2 separate regions of the Homo sapiens genome follow, and region 2 is linked to region 1. Evidence: promoter capture Hi-C in human tissues and cell types (Jung and others, 2019). All regions are on one chromosome and are shown on one strand. The core of a region is centred on a gene start or on the middle of the fragment in contact, and the rest is flanking DNA. Distances in the headings are between cores, read along the strand shown. Region 1 holds the start of MPV17 (mitochondrial inner membrane protein MPV17). Region 2 overlaps CENPA (centromere protein A).

The links. Contacts are between HindIII fragments. The study calls those that stand out against the background at their distance.
Region 2: a contact is called between a fragment that was not itself captured here and the fragment with the promoter of MPV17 in region 1, in 1 of the 25 tissues and cell types used here (hippocampus).

Annotation. Positions count from the first base shown.
Region 1 is chr2:27,319,776-27,325,517 of GRCh38, forward strand. It overlaps MPV17 (mitochondrial inner membrane protein MPV17), which reads right to left and starts at 3,322. Exons shown (of 8, transcript NM_002437.5): 1 at 3,277-3,322; 2 at 2,673-2,747. The coding sequence starts at 2,742. RefSeq lists enhancers at 2,717-2,766, 2,777-2,866, 2,877-2,926, 2,977-3,036, 3,159-4,131 and 3 more. The HindIII fragment of the contact is 20,851 bases long and covers 3,017-5,742 here.
Region 2 is chr2:26,794,528-26,800,269 of GRCh38, forward strand. CENPA (centromere protein A) reads left to right here. Exons shown (of 5, transcript NM_001809.4): 5 at 1-62. Among named protein-coding and RNA genes, the nearest start is that of CENPA, 11 kb to the left of the region's middle. RefSeq lists a silencer at 180-380. The HindIII fragment of the contact is 9,087 bases long and covers 1-5,742 here.

The sequences.
Region 1 (5,742 bases), core at 2,072-4,571:
AGTAGCCTGGTGTGGTGCTGTGCACTTGTAGTCCCAGCTACTCAGGAGGCTGACGCATGATAATTGCTTGAACCCAGGAGGCGGAGGTTGCAGTGAGCTGATATAGCACCACCACTCTCCAGCCTGGGTAACAGGGTGACACCTTATCTCAAAAAAAAAAAAAAAAGAAAAAGAAAAAAAGGCTGAGCTCAGTGGCTCACACCTGTAACCCCAGCACTTTAGGAGGCCGAGGCGGGTGAATCACGAGGTCAAGTGTCCGAGACCAGCCTGGCCAACATGGTGAAATCCCGTCTCTACTAAAAATAGAAAAAATTAGCTGGGCGTGGTGGCGCATGCCTATAATCCCAGCTGCTGAAGAGGCTGAGGCAGGAGAATCACTTGAACCCGGGAGGCGGAGGTTGCAGTGAGTCGAGATCACGCCACCGCACTCCAGCCCGGGCAACAGTGCAAGACTCCATCTCGAAGAAAAAAAAAAAGAAAAAAAATGTCCAAAACCTTTTCACAGTGATACTCCTATACTGACCCTGTGAGGTCATATAACTAAACTCAAGATTTTTTTTTTGTTGATTTTTTTTTTTGAGATGGAGTTTCGCTCTTGTTGCCCAGGCTGGAGTGCAATGGCACAATCTTGGCTCACCGCAACCTCTGCCTCATGGGTTCAAGTGATTCTCCTGCCTCAGCCTCCCAAGTAGCTGGGATTACAGGCATGCGCCACCATACCCGGCTAATTTTGTATTTTTAGTAGAGACGGGGTTTCACCGTGTTAGCCAGGTTGGTCTCGATCTCCTGACCTCGTGATCTGCCCACCTCGGCGTCCCAAAGTGCTGGGATTACAGGTGTGAGCCACCGCGCCCAGTCCCTAAACTCAAGTTTTAAAAGAGGAAACTAAGGCTCAAAGAAGCTTACTGACTTGTCCTGATTAATGCACCTACTAGGTGCTATGGTTTTAAGATTCAAATCCTGGTCTTCTAAGTCTGAAATCTCTGTACTGTTTTCCAGTGTGATGAGCTATCCCATGGGACCTTAGGAACTACTGTGCTGGGGTCCAAAAATGGCTCAGTGAACTAAAGCCACTTCCACCTTTTATTTGTAGTTTGATCCAAATACAGTGAACAGCAGGAAAGGAAAAGTCTGGATGGTCTGAAAAAGTCTGGGAAAAGTGCTGGGAGGCTACATTTTGCTTCAGGGCTGAGCTGGGACGTCAGCATAGCCTCAGGAAGACTGAGGCTGTGGAGCTGAAGGGCTCCAGCACCAAGAGCCCAGAACTCCAGCCACATGTCGGCACCTAGGCCTCCTTGGAGCTCTAGCTCCTGCCCTTGTCAGCTGCAGATGCCTCAGGTAGGGAAATATAAGGACTCTTTCCCTCCCTATTCTTGATGACCACAAGGGGGAATCTTCCATCTGGCAGTTATGGGCCCTGAGGGAATCTGAGCCTGGGCAAAGGGCCCAGCGTGTCAGTTCCCATCATAGCCACACTGTCCAGCATGAGTCACCACACACGTAGCCAGGTGAGTCATACAGGCTGACGGACGCTGAGGACAGGACAAGAGGTGGTTGGGCACCGGAGACTGGAGAGGGGCCCAGGGAAGGGCCAAAGAATCCATCTCCTGGCCATTCATGCAGTTAAGTTTCTGTGCCGATGCAGGGCTGTTCTGGTCACAGGATCCCTGTTCCACTCTGGCCTTCAGTAGCCCCCAATCCCTTCCAATAGTCCTCTTCTCAGAAGGCCAGTCATCACTAGAATCCTGTTCCCCTTCTCTAAACATGGGCAAGACCTCATCTTAATGTGATCACTCTTTGCACCCCAATGTTCTAAGGCCTTCTGACATTCCCCCTCTAAGACTTACTTATCTTCATGCCATCCTCTTACATTAGCTAACTTGCAAAATGAAGATGGTAACAAATGCAGGTAGGTCACTGCATTACCTCTGTGAGGTTAGTACTCAATCACTGCATTTGGAGTGACTGGTATCTGATCACTCCAAATGGATCAGGATGGAGTGATCAGATACCAATATACTAACCTTGGAGATACATATTTAGGCAGTAAATGATAACAAAAGCAAATGAACGATATAAACAAAACTCAGGAAATTTTGGGTGAATTACGGAGAGGCACTCAAGAGGTCTCAAAGCTGATTACTGACACAGGAGTGTTCAGTTTTAATGCCATTTAAACTGTACATACACATCTTAATCATTCTTTTGTATGTTTCACAATAAAAAATACCAAGAAAAACTGGGGTAAGAGTCTTGATTCAGCACTTATTAGGTGTGATCTAATGTGGACTCAAGTAACCCTCCTAGCTCACACACCTTTGTGGGGGCCCTATGCCATAACGTATATGAAAGTGCTTTGCATACGGTAAAATGTTTTCCAAGTTGAGGCCTCCTGGGGCAATGCCTTTATCCTTCAGGGCTGACTGTTCAGCTTTTTGAGGACTTTGAAATCCTAAAACCCTACTGCACAGCTTGGCCAACTACGCATACCCCTTAAAAACAGCCTTGGGGACCACCCTCCAAAACAGACTGGGGACAGTGTAGGATGAAAGACAGCCAACCCTTCAAGAGAGCCGAATAGAAACAGGAAGTGAGGGTGGTGCAGTGGGGCAAGCCTCTGGCTTCCAAATCAGTCTGCCCTGGTCCCACTCAAGTCCTAGAGGGACACTCACCAGCTGTCAGGACCTGTACTTTCCACGGGTGAGCGGCCAGGGCCCGCTGGTATGCCCGCCAGAGTGCCATGCTTCCTGTCAAGCCAAGAGGAGAGGGGGTCACCCCCACCGTCCCTCTCCACGACTAAGAAGCCGCCTGACATTCCCTTGTGCCCACTCCCTTCCCCTTCCCACTTCCAATGTGACTTAAAGGGGCAGAGGCCACATGAAGGATGCTTCCCAGACAGCTTCCTGTCGCAGGAGTCGCCTTAGACAATTGGGGAAGAGAGAAAGGCTGTGGGAAGCTATGGACTCCTGGTAGCAGCCACCAGCCACCCCAACCTCATTCCTGAAGCCAGACCACCTGGAAGCCTCCGTTCCCGACGGAGACACTCATGAGGACAGCTTTGCTCTGGCTTCTACCCAGAGCTTGGGTGCCTCAAAAGATAGCTTGGTCCGTCTCCAGATTCAGACTTGGTTGGAACCAGTTTGTAACCTTCCTGAGTCCAGCTCCAAACCGAAAATAGGGCCCGTCACTGCCCGGATATAGGATGACCACACACCTTGTGGGCACTCATGGCTTGCGACGCTTTAAGCCAGAGACCGCAGATCACCCGCCACTCACCTGAGCGCCGAGCCTCCCTCCCACGTGACAGGCTGGCCTAGGAACTTCCGCCACAAGTCCCGCCCCTTCCTCCCAGCGTCCTTCGGATTACGCAGCCAGGACAGGAATGGGGGTGGACCGAGCCATGAATACCCGTGGAGAGCGGCCTAACTCGGCCACCCACTCTGTGAGAGACCCCTTTTCCAGCTGGACTGTGCCGGACCCTGGTGTGGGGCCCGCCAGCCATATTTCTCACCTAAGTTCGACCCTCTGCCTCCTCCTGCCCCTTCTCTCCGCGCGAGACCCGGGCCTCTCTCAATCCGGTAGTCTCATTGTTCAGCCCACCCTCCCCGCATAACTGGCCATAACTACGATCCTTGTCTCAGCAATCGTAGTTAGGGAACTATAAGTTATAGTTAAGTGCGTGTTTTGTCTCTAGGTTCTTCACTGGCCTCAACTGTGAGCTCATGAGTGGGTAAAACTGGGGTCGTTCATATTTGTCGTCCTCATAGCAACTATTTCAGTGCTTTGCCGCAAACAGCCACTTAAGAAATACTGCGTATGTATGATTCTTCCACAGAAAGCATTGGAATTAGAACCTCAGAAGACATTAGGTATTGGCTCCCAAACTAACGGGCTGTGCAGCCTTGGTCATGACTAGACTTGATGTTAAGGCTCTGCATCTGTAAAATGAGGGAGGTTACACTATTGACTTTCCAAACTCGGCTCCTCAGTTCTAGGGATTTTTCAGATGTTTGTGTGTGGGGATGAGAGGGGCAGCATTACTACAGCTGCTTCTCCAACTTTTTTTTCCAAGTATATACTTCTCAAAAGACCCATTTTTAACGGGGCCCACAACTGCATGTTTGAAAACCAGTAAGCTAGGTGATTTCTTAATCCCCTTCCAGCTCTAACATTCTAAGAGTCTGTGAATATAGAGCAATATCCTTTCTAGAGCGTTGGAAATGTCTACAATATCCCTGGCAATGGACTTGTCAGGCTGGCAGGCTTTACTTATCTCCAGGGAGCCCACACGTCAGGAGGCACACTCTTTCAGGCTCTCCACCTGCCCAGCTCCACCCCCAATTTACTCAATTCCTTTATGATTAAGGCAGGGAGACTCCTGCCACAAATCCTGGAGAAACAGAGTAAGGAAGCAAGAGAAGTCAATGTCACAAACATTTAACTAAAATGCTATTTGCAAAACAGCATGCTAGAGGAGTGAACTGACAAAAGTAAATGTAATAGGAGACCAAATGTGGTAGGCTGTAAAGTTATATTCTGAAGTTAGACTGAGTTCAAATCCCCAGCACCACCACTTACTAGTTATATGACCTTGACCTTTTACAGACAGCTTACCCTCTCCAACTCTTTTATCATTAAGTAAAATGGCAATACCTACCTCATACAAGTGACACATGCGAAGTGCCTAAAATGGATCAAGTGCTTAATGCTTGTTTATCCTTTTTCCTCCCTTCCCCCTTGGGAACACAAGGGAGGGAAACTATTTTTTACTGGAGAAAACTGGGAAGCTCTTTGGTGAAGGTGGAATTTGAGCCGGGACCTTGAAGGATGAATTGAACTCAGGTGAAGATGGTGGAAAAAGACACTCTGGCGAAGGGAGGAATATGAGAAGAGGAATAAAGGTAGAGAAGTGTATGAACAATGGATAGTATGAAGTGGGTATATTGGGAGGGAGGGTTAGAAAGAGAAAAGGCTTGTTAGAGAAAAAGAACAAGGTCAAGACTAGGGCTGAGACTCAGTTGCAGAAGCAGGGCTGCCAGCACCAATCTACAGCCTCAAGTGTGGATCCCCAGGTCTCATCTTTTCTACCACTGAAAATAGGAAGGGGGCTGCCCTGTAGAATTGAGTAAAGCTTCTCTTCGACAGAAGGCACTTGCGTAACAGCTCAAAAAACAAAACTGGCTCAATGTGAGCTGGATCCCAATAGGGTAGTGCAACACTTGGCTTCTTTGCACTGACATGGGTTGTGGTCTCTGCTGTTGATAGACTTGGGTTTCCTCCAGGTCTATTTTCTCATCTGTACAGGATAGGGGCTGAACTCTTTTTGAGACGGAGTCTCGCTCCGTCACCCAGGCTGGAGTGCAGTGGCAGGATCTCGGCTCACTGCAACCTCTGCATCCCAGGTTCAAATGATTCTTCTGCCTCAGCCTCCTGAGTAGCTGGGATTGCAGGTGTGTGCCATCACACCTGGCTAATTTTTTACATTTTTGGTAGAGACGGGGTTTCACCATACATTGGCCAGGCTGGTCTTGAACTTCTGACCTCAAGTAATCCGCCTGCCTTGGCCTCCCAAAGTGTTGGGATTACAGGCGTGAGCCACCACACCTGGCCAGGACTAAACTTCTTGATCGCTTCTTCTTAAAGGAGATTTTCTGACAGATGATAAAGTCCCTACACTACATATTCAGCCAGTCTAGAATGCCAGAGGGTTTTGTTCCAGGTAGGCACTGATCTCATCTCCAC
Region 2 (5,742 bases), core at 2,053-4,552, 530 kb before region 1:
TTATGGGTATTTTTGTAGTTTCTTTGTAGAGAGATAATAAAAATCAAAATATTTAATGAAAATGGACTTACTGTTACAGCATAGAGATTATACTGTACTTTTTGTGTGTTAAAAATAAGTTCTTTATTTGTTTGCAAACAGCCACAATTTTTTTTTCTTTTTTTTTTTTTTGAGATGGAGTCTTTTTTTTTATTGATCATTCTTGGGTGTTTCTCGCAGAGGGGGATTTGGCAGGGTCATAGGACAATAGTGGAGGGAAGGTCAGCAGATAAACAAGTGAACAAAGGTCTCTGGTTTTCCGAGGCAGAGGACCCTGCGGCCTTCCGCAGTGTTTGTGTCCCTGGGTACTTGAGATTAGGGAGTGGTGATGACTCTTAATGAGCATGCTGCCTTCAAGCATCTGTTTAACAAAGCACATCTTGCACCGCCCTTAATCCATTTAACCCTGAGTGGACACAGCACATGTTTCAGAGAGCACAGGGTTGGGGGTAAGGTCACAGATCAACAGGATCCCAAGGCAGAAGAATTTTTCTTAGTACAGAACAAAATGAAAAGTTTCCCATGTCTACTTCTTTCTACACAGACACGGCAACCATCCGATTTCTCAATCTTTCCCCCACCTTTCCCCCCTTTCTATTCCACAAAACCGCCATTGTCATCATGGCCCGTTCTCAGTGAGCTGTTGGGTACACCTCCCAGATGGGGTGGTGGCTGGGCAGAGGGGCTCCTCACTTCCCAGAAGGGGTGGCCGGGCAGGGGCGCCCCTCACCTCCCGGACGGGGCGGCTGGCCGGGCGGGGGGCTGACCCCTCCTCCTCCCTCCCGGAGGGGGCGGCTGGCCGGGCAGAGGGGCTCCTCACTTCCCAGTAGGGGCGGCCGGGCAGAGGCACCCCTCACCTCCCGGACGGGGCGAACAGCCACAATTTAAACAAGATAATTAAGGGAGGTGGTTTTGCCTCTGGTGGAGTAGAGTATGACTAGATGAAAACCTTGCCCTTCTGTTGTAACTGAAAGCAATTTAAAAGATTTCCAGAGACATGGGAAGTGTCACCCAAAGATATGAGATCTGTATGTGATGAAAATGATTAGTGAGGGCAGACTACTAATAATGATGTGTCAGTCAACTGAGTTCAGAGACAGATTAAAGAGATGCACCAAGTTCTATTGTTTAATAATTTTTTTTTTCCCGAGACTCTGTCTGTCGCCCAGGCTGGAGTGCAGTAGTGCCATCTCAGCTCACTGCAAGCTCCGCCTCCTGGGTTCAAATGATTCTCCTGTCTCAGCCTCCCTAGTAGCTGGGATTACAGGCATCCACCATCATGCCTGGCTAATTTTTGTATTTTTGTAGAGACAGGGTTTCACCATGTTGGCCAGGCTGGTCTTGAACTCCTGACCTCAAGTGATCTGTGGGCCTCAGCCTCCCAAAGTGTTGGGATTACAGGCGTGAGCCACTGTGCCTGGCTGGGTTTTTGTTTTATGTATTTTTTTATTATTATTTTTTTAATTTTTAATTTAATTTTATTTTTTGTAGGGGCAAGGCTTTGCCGTGTTGCCTAAGCTGGTTTCGAACTCCTGAACTCAAGCAATCTGCTTGACTCAGTCTCCCAGAGTGCTGGGATTACAGGTGTGAGCCACCAGGCCTGGCCATATTTATTTTTGAGAGAAAGGGGGGTCTCGCTCTGTCACCCAGGCTGGAATGCAGTGGAGCAATCATAGCTCGTTGCAGCCTCAAACTCCTGGGCTCAAGCAATCCTCCCACCTCGCCCTCCCAAGTATCTTGAACTATAGATGCTCGCCACCACGCCCCTGTTTTATTTTTTTATTTTGTTTTTCCCTACTTTCAGGGTGATTTCATCAACATTCTTTTCTAACCTTTCAATTGAATTTTTTATTTCTGATTTCATGTTTTTAATATCCAATTAACTCCTTATTTTGGTAATGTTTCTTTTTTATAGTATTCCAATCAGTCAGCATTCACTTAAAAAAAAAAAACAGAAATAACTCCAGATATTTTAAGCAAAAAGGGATTTGGTGGAAGGGGTTGACTATAGTAATGTCAGGAAGGCTGGTTGAGCCAAAGAGAAGAGGATGCTGCCCAAAGATCAGGAAGCTCCCAGTGCCCACCCCCACTGCTGCTCTGCTGGAAGCATAGCCCTGCCACCATTGCATTGAACTGTACCACTGCCGCTGAGCAAAGTCAGGATCCCCAACTCTGACCATTGTATCATGCCCGGCTGGCTCTGCAATGTCATTTTGATGTGTCTTCAGTATGGATTTTTTTTTTTTTTTTTCTGAGTCAGAGTCTCGCTCTGTCACCGAGGCTGGAGTGCAGTGGTGCGATCTCCAACTTTTTCAGTTTTCTTTGATAGGAGAGTGGTCCCAATGACCTTTTCTACCATTACTGGAAGTTGAAGTTTGATGTGTCTCTTGATATTCCCATACTCATCATTACTTATTGCCATTAAAATAAAACAAAAATAACTTAAATGTATTCAACATCAAACATAACACATGCTGTCATATATAACAATCAAGACTCTCATTTGCAAGTTTGGGGACCCCAACTCAAACTGACTTAAGAGGAGAAGGTTCATATAACTGAAAAGCCCAGAGACATTTCTGGTTTCGCTACAGTCAAATCGAAGGGCTGTAACAAAGTCATGAGATTTGGTCTCTCTCTTCACCCTTTGCTGCTTCTGTTAGTGTCACTTTCAGGCAGGCCTTCAGAACCTGTAAATTTGGCATGTCACATGGCAAAGGGGAATTAAGAGTGCTAATCAGCTGACATTAAAATAGGGAGATTTAGAAGAAAAAAAGGACAAAGCAAAAAATGGGGAGAGTACCTTGGAATTTTGGGTGGGCCCAATGTAATCACAAGTGCCATTAAAAATGGAAGAGTGAGAGAGAAGTGTGTTAGAGATAGGAGTAGGAGAATGGTCAGGCAGATGCAACATTGCTGGCATTGAAGATGGAGGGAGAGATCACAGACTGACGAGTCTAGGTGGCTTCTAGCAGCGAAGAGGCAAGGAAGCGGATTTTCTTTTAGAAACTCCAGAGAAGAAAACAGGCCTGCCGATACCTTGATTTTTAGCCCAGCGAAACTTGTGTCAGACTTCTAAACTACAGAACTGTAAGAATAAATTTGTGTTTTATCTAAGCCACTGAGTTGTTGCTAATTTGTTACAGCAGCAATAGGAAACTAATACAAGTGGTTTCCCAAGGAAATTTGAGGCTTCTTAACAGGTAAGAGAGAATGTAGACAGGGCAGACAAAAATAACAGATGTCTACTATACCACATGTGGTGTTATGATAGACATTGGTTTTCGTCCACAGTTCCGGGCTCATAACTGCTATAGCCGTTGTTAGTTCTTTTGTTGTAATATTGGGTATGTGTTAGGCCTCAGGAAACAGAATCTCTCCTTCTCCTGCCCTCCTTTCACCTGCCCCAAGACAGGCCTCTAATCTTTCTCAGGCTTTCAGATTGTGGGTCTTAAGATCCTACCCAGAGAGGTTCCCTCTATACCCTGGGGGAAAGAATGCGGAGGTCCTGAAGCTTCCATAAAAACCCTTGAGGACGGTTCAGGGAGGTTCCCGATACCTGAACTCGGGGAGGTTCCTGGAGGGTGGCGCCCCCCACACCCCCCACCCCCCACGGAGGGCTTAGAAGCTCTGTGTGCATTCCCCATACCTCACCCCACGTGTCTCTTCATCTGTTTCCTTTTTTTATGTTTTTCATGCATTTTTTTTATTTTTTATTTTTCATTTTTTTTTTTTTTAGACAGAGTCTCACTCTGTCACCCAGGCTGGAGTGCAGTGGCGCGATCTTGGCTCACTGCAACCTCCGCCTCCCAGGTTCAAGCAATTCTCCTGCCTCAGCCTCCCAAGTAGCTGGGATTATAGGCGTGGGCCACTACACCCGGCTAATTTTTGTATTTTTAGTAGAGGCGGGGTTTCGCCATGTTGGCCAGGCTGGTCTTGAACTCCTGACCTCAGGTAATCCGCCTCAGCCTCCCAAAGTGCTGGGATTACAGGTGTGAGCCACCGCGCCCAGCCATCTGTATCCTTTGTAATATTTTTTGTAACAAACTGGTAAATGTGTTTCCCTGAGCTCTGTGAGCCACTCCACCAAATTAATCAAAGAGGGGGTCATGGGAACCCCAACTTGAAGCCAGTCCTAGAGGCCCAGACTTGTGACCGGTTTTGGTGGGTGGGCAGTCTTGGGGACTGAACCCTCAACGTGTGGGATCTGATGCCATCTCTGGGTAGACAGTGTCAGAAATGAATTAGAGGACACCCAGCTGGTGTCCACTGCTTGGTGTATGGGGAAATCACCTCCAACGTTTGGTCACAGAAATCTTCTGCATGGATGATTGTTGTGCTGTGAGAGTGAGGAAAAACATGGTTAGAGTTCTCCCTACATACCATATGACGCACTGTGTCACAATTACAAATTTTTAAAAGCCAGATGGCACCTACTTTTTTTTTTTTTTTTTGCCATTACTTTCAATGGCAACAACCGCAATTACTTTTGCACCAACCTAGTAATATACTTTGAGCAGCATTAGAGTTTTATTCTATTTTATATTCTTTGGATTTATTTTAATGCTGTTTACAGGAACTGAAAAGCTCCATTCTTTTTAAAAGATTTTCTAATTAAAGTATAACATACATACCAAAAACACAAATGTATACAGATTACAATTTTACAGCTCAATTAGTTTTCACAAACTGAAATCAATGCATCTCAGAATCCTGCCCCGTTCTAGTCAATACTTACTCTGCCAAGGATAATTGTTATCCTGTTGTTTTTTTATATAGACGGAGCTTTGCTCTTGTCGCCCAGGCTGGGTGGGGTGTGTGGCCCAGGCTGGGGTGCAGTGGCGCAATCTCGGCTCACTGCAACCTCTGCCTCCCGGGTTCAAGTGATTCTCCTGCCTCAGCCTCCTGAGTAGCCGAGATTACAGGCACCCACCACCACGTCTGGCTAATTTTTGTATTTTTAGTAGAGACGGGGTTTCACCATGTTGGCCAGGCTGGTCTCAAACTCCTGACCTCAGGTAATCTACCTGGTTCGGCCTCCCAAAGAGCTGGGATTACAGGCGTGAGCCACCACGCCCGGCCTATCCTGACTTTTAATACCATAGATTCATTTTGATTATTGTAGTAAGTGGAATTATAGAGCATATATTCTTTTGTGTTTTTCAGTCAACATGTTTGTGAAATTTATATTTTCTCATGTGTTTATGGTGTTAATTCTTACTGCTGCATAGGGTTTCATTGTGTGGATATGCCTAAATTTTTTTTTTTTTTTTTTAGTGAAAGCAAGTTTATTAAGAAAGTGAAAGAATAAAGCATAGCTACTCTGTAGGCAGAGCGGCCTATGCCTAAATTTGTATATTTCCATTCTATTGAACATTTGGATAGTTTCAAGTTTGGGGGTTACAAATATTGGCTACTGACTTTTGCCTCAAAAACAAAAAAAAAAGAGACTTGGAGATGCATTTTTTTGGGGGGTTTGTTTGTTTGAGACAGGATCTTACTCTGTCACCCACGCTAGAGGGCATTGGTGTGATCACAGTTCACTGCATCCTCGACCTCCCCAGGCTCAGGTGATCTTCCCACCTCAGCTTCCCGAGTAGCTGGGAATATAGGAGCACACCACCACACCTGGCTAATTTTTTTTTTTTTTTTTTTTTTTAGACAGAGTCTCACTCTGTCACCAGGCTGGAGTGCAGTGGCGCG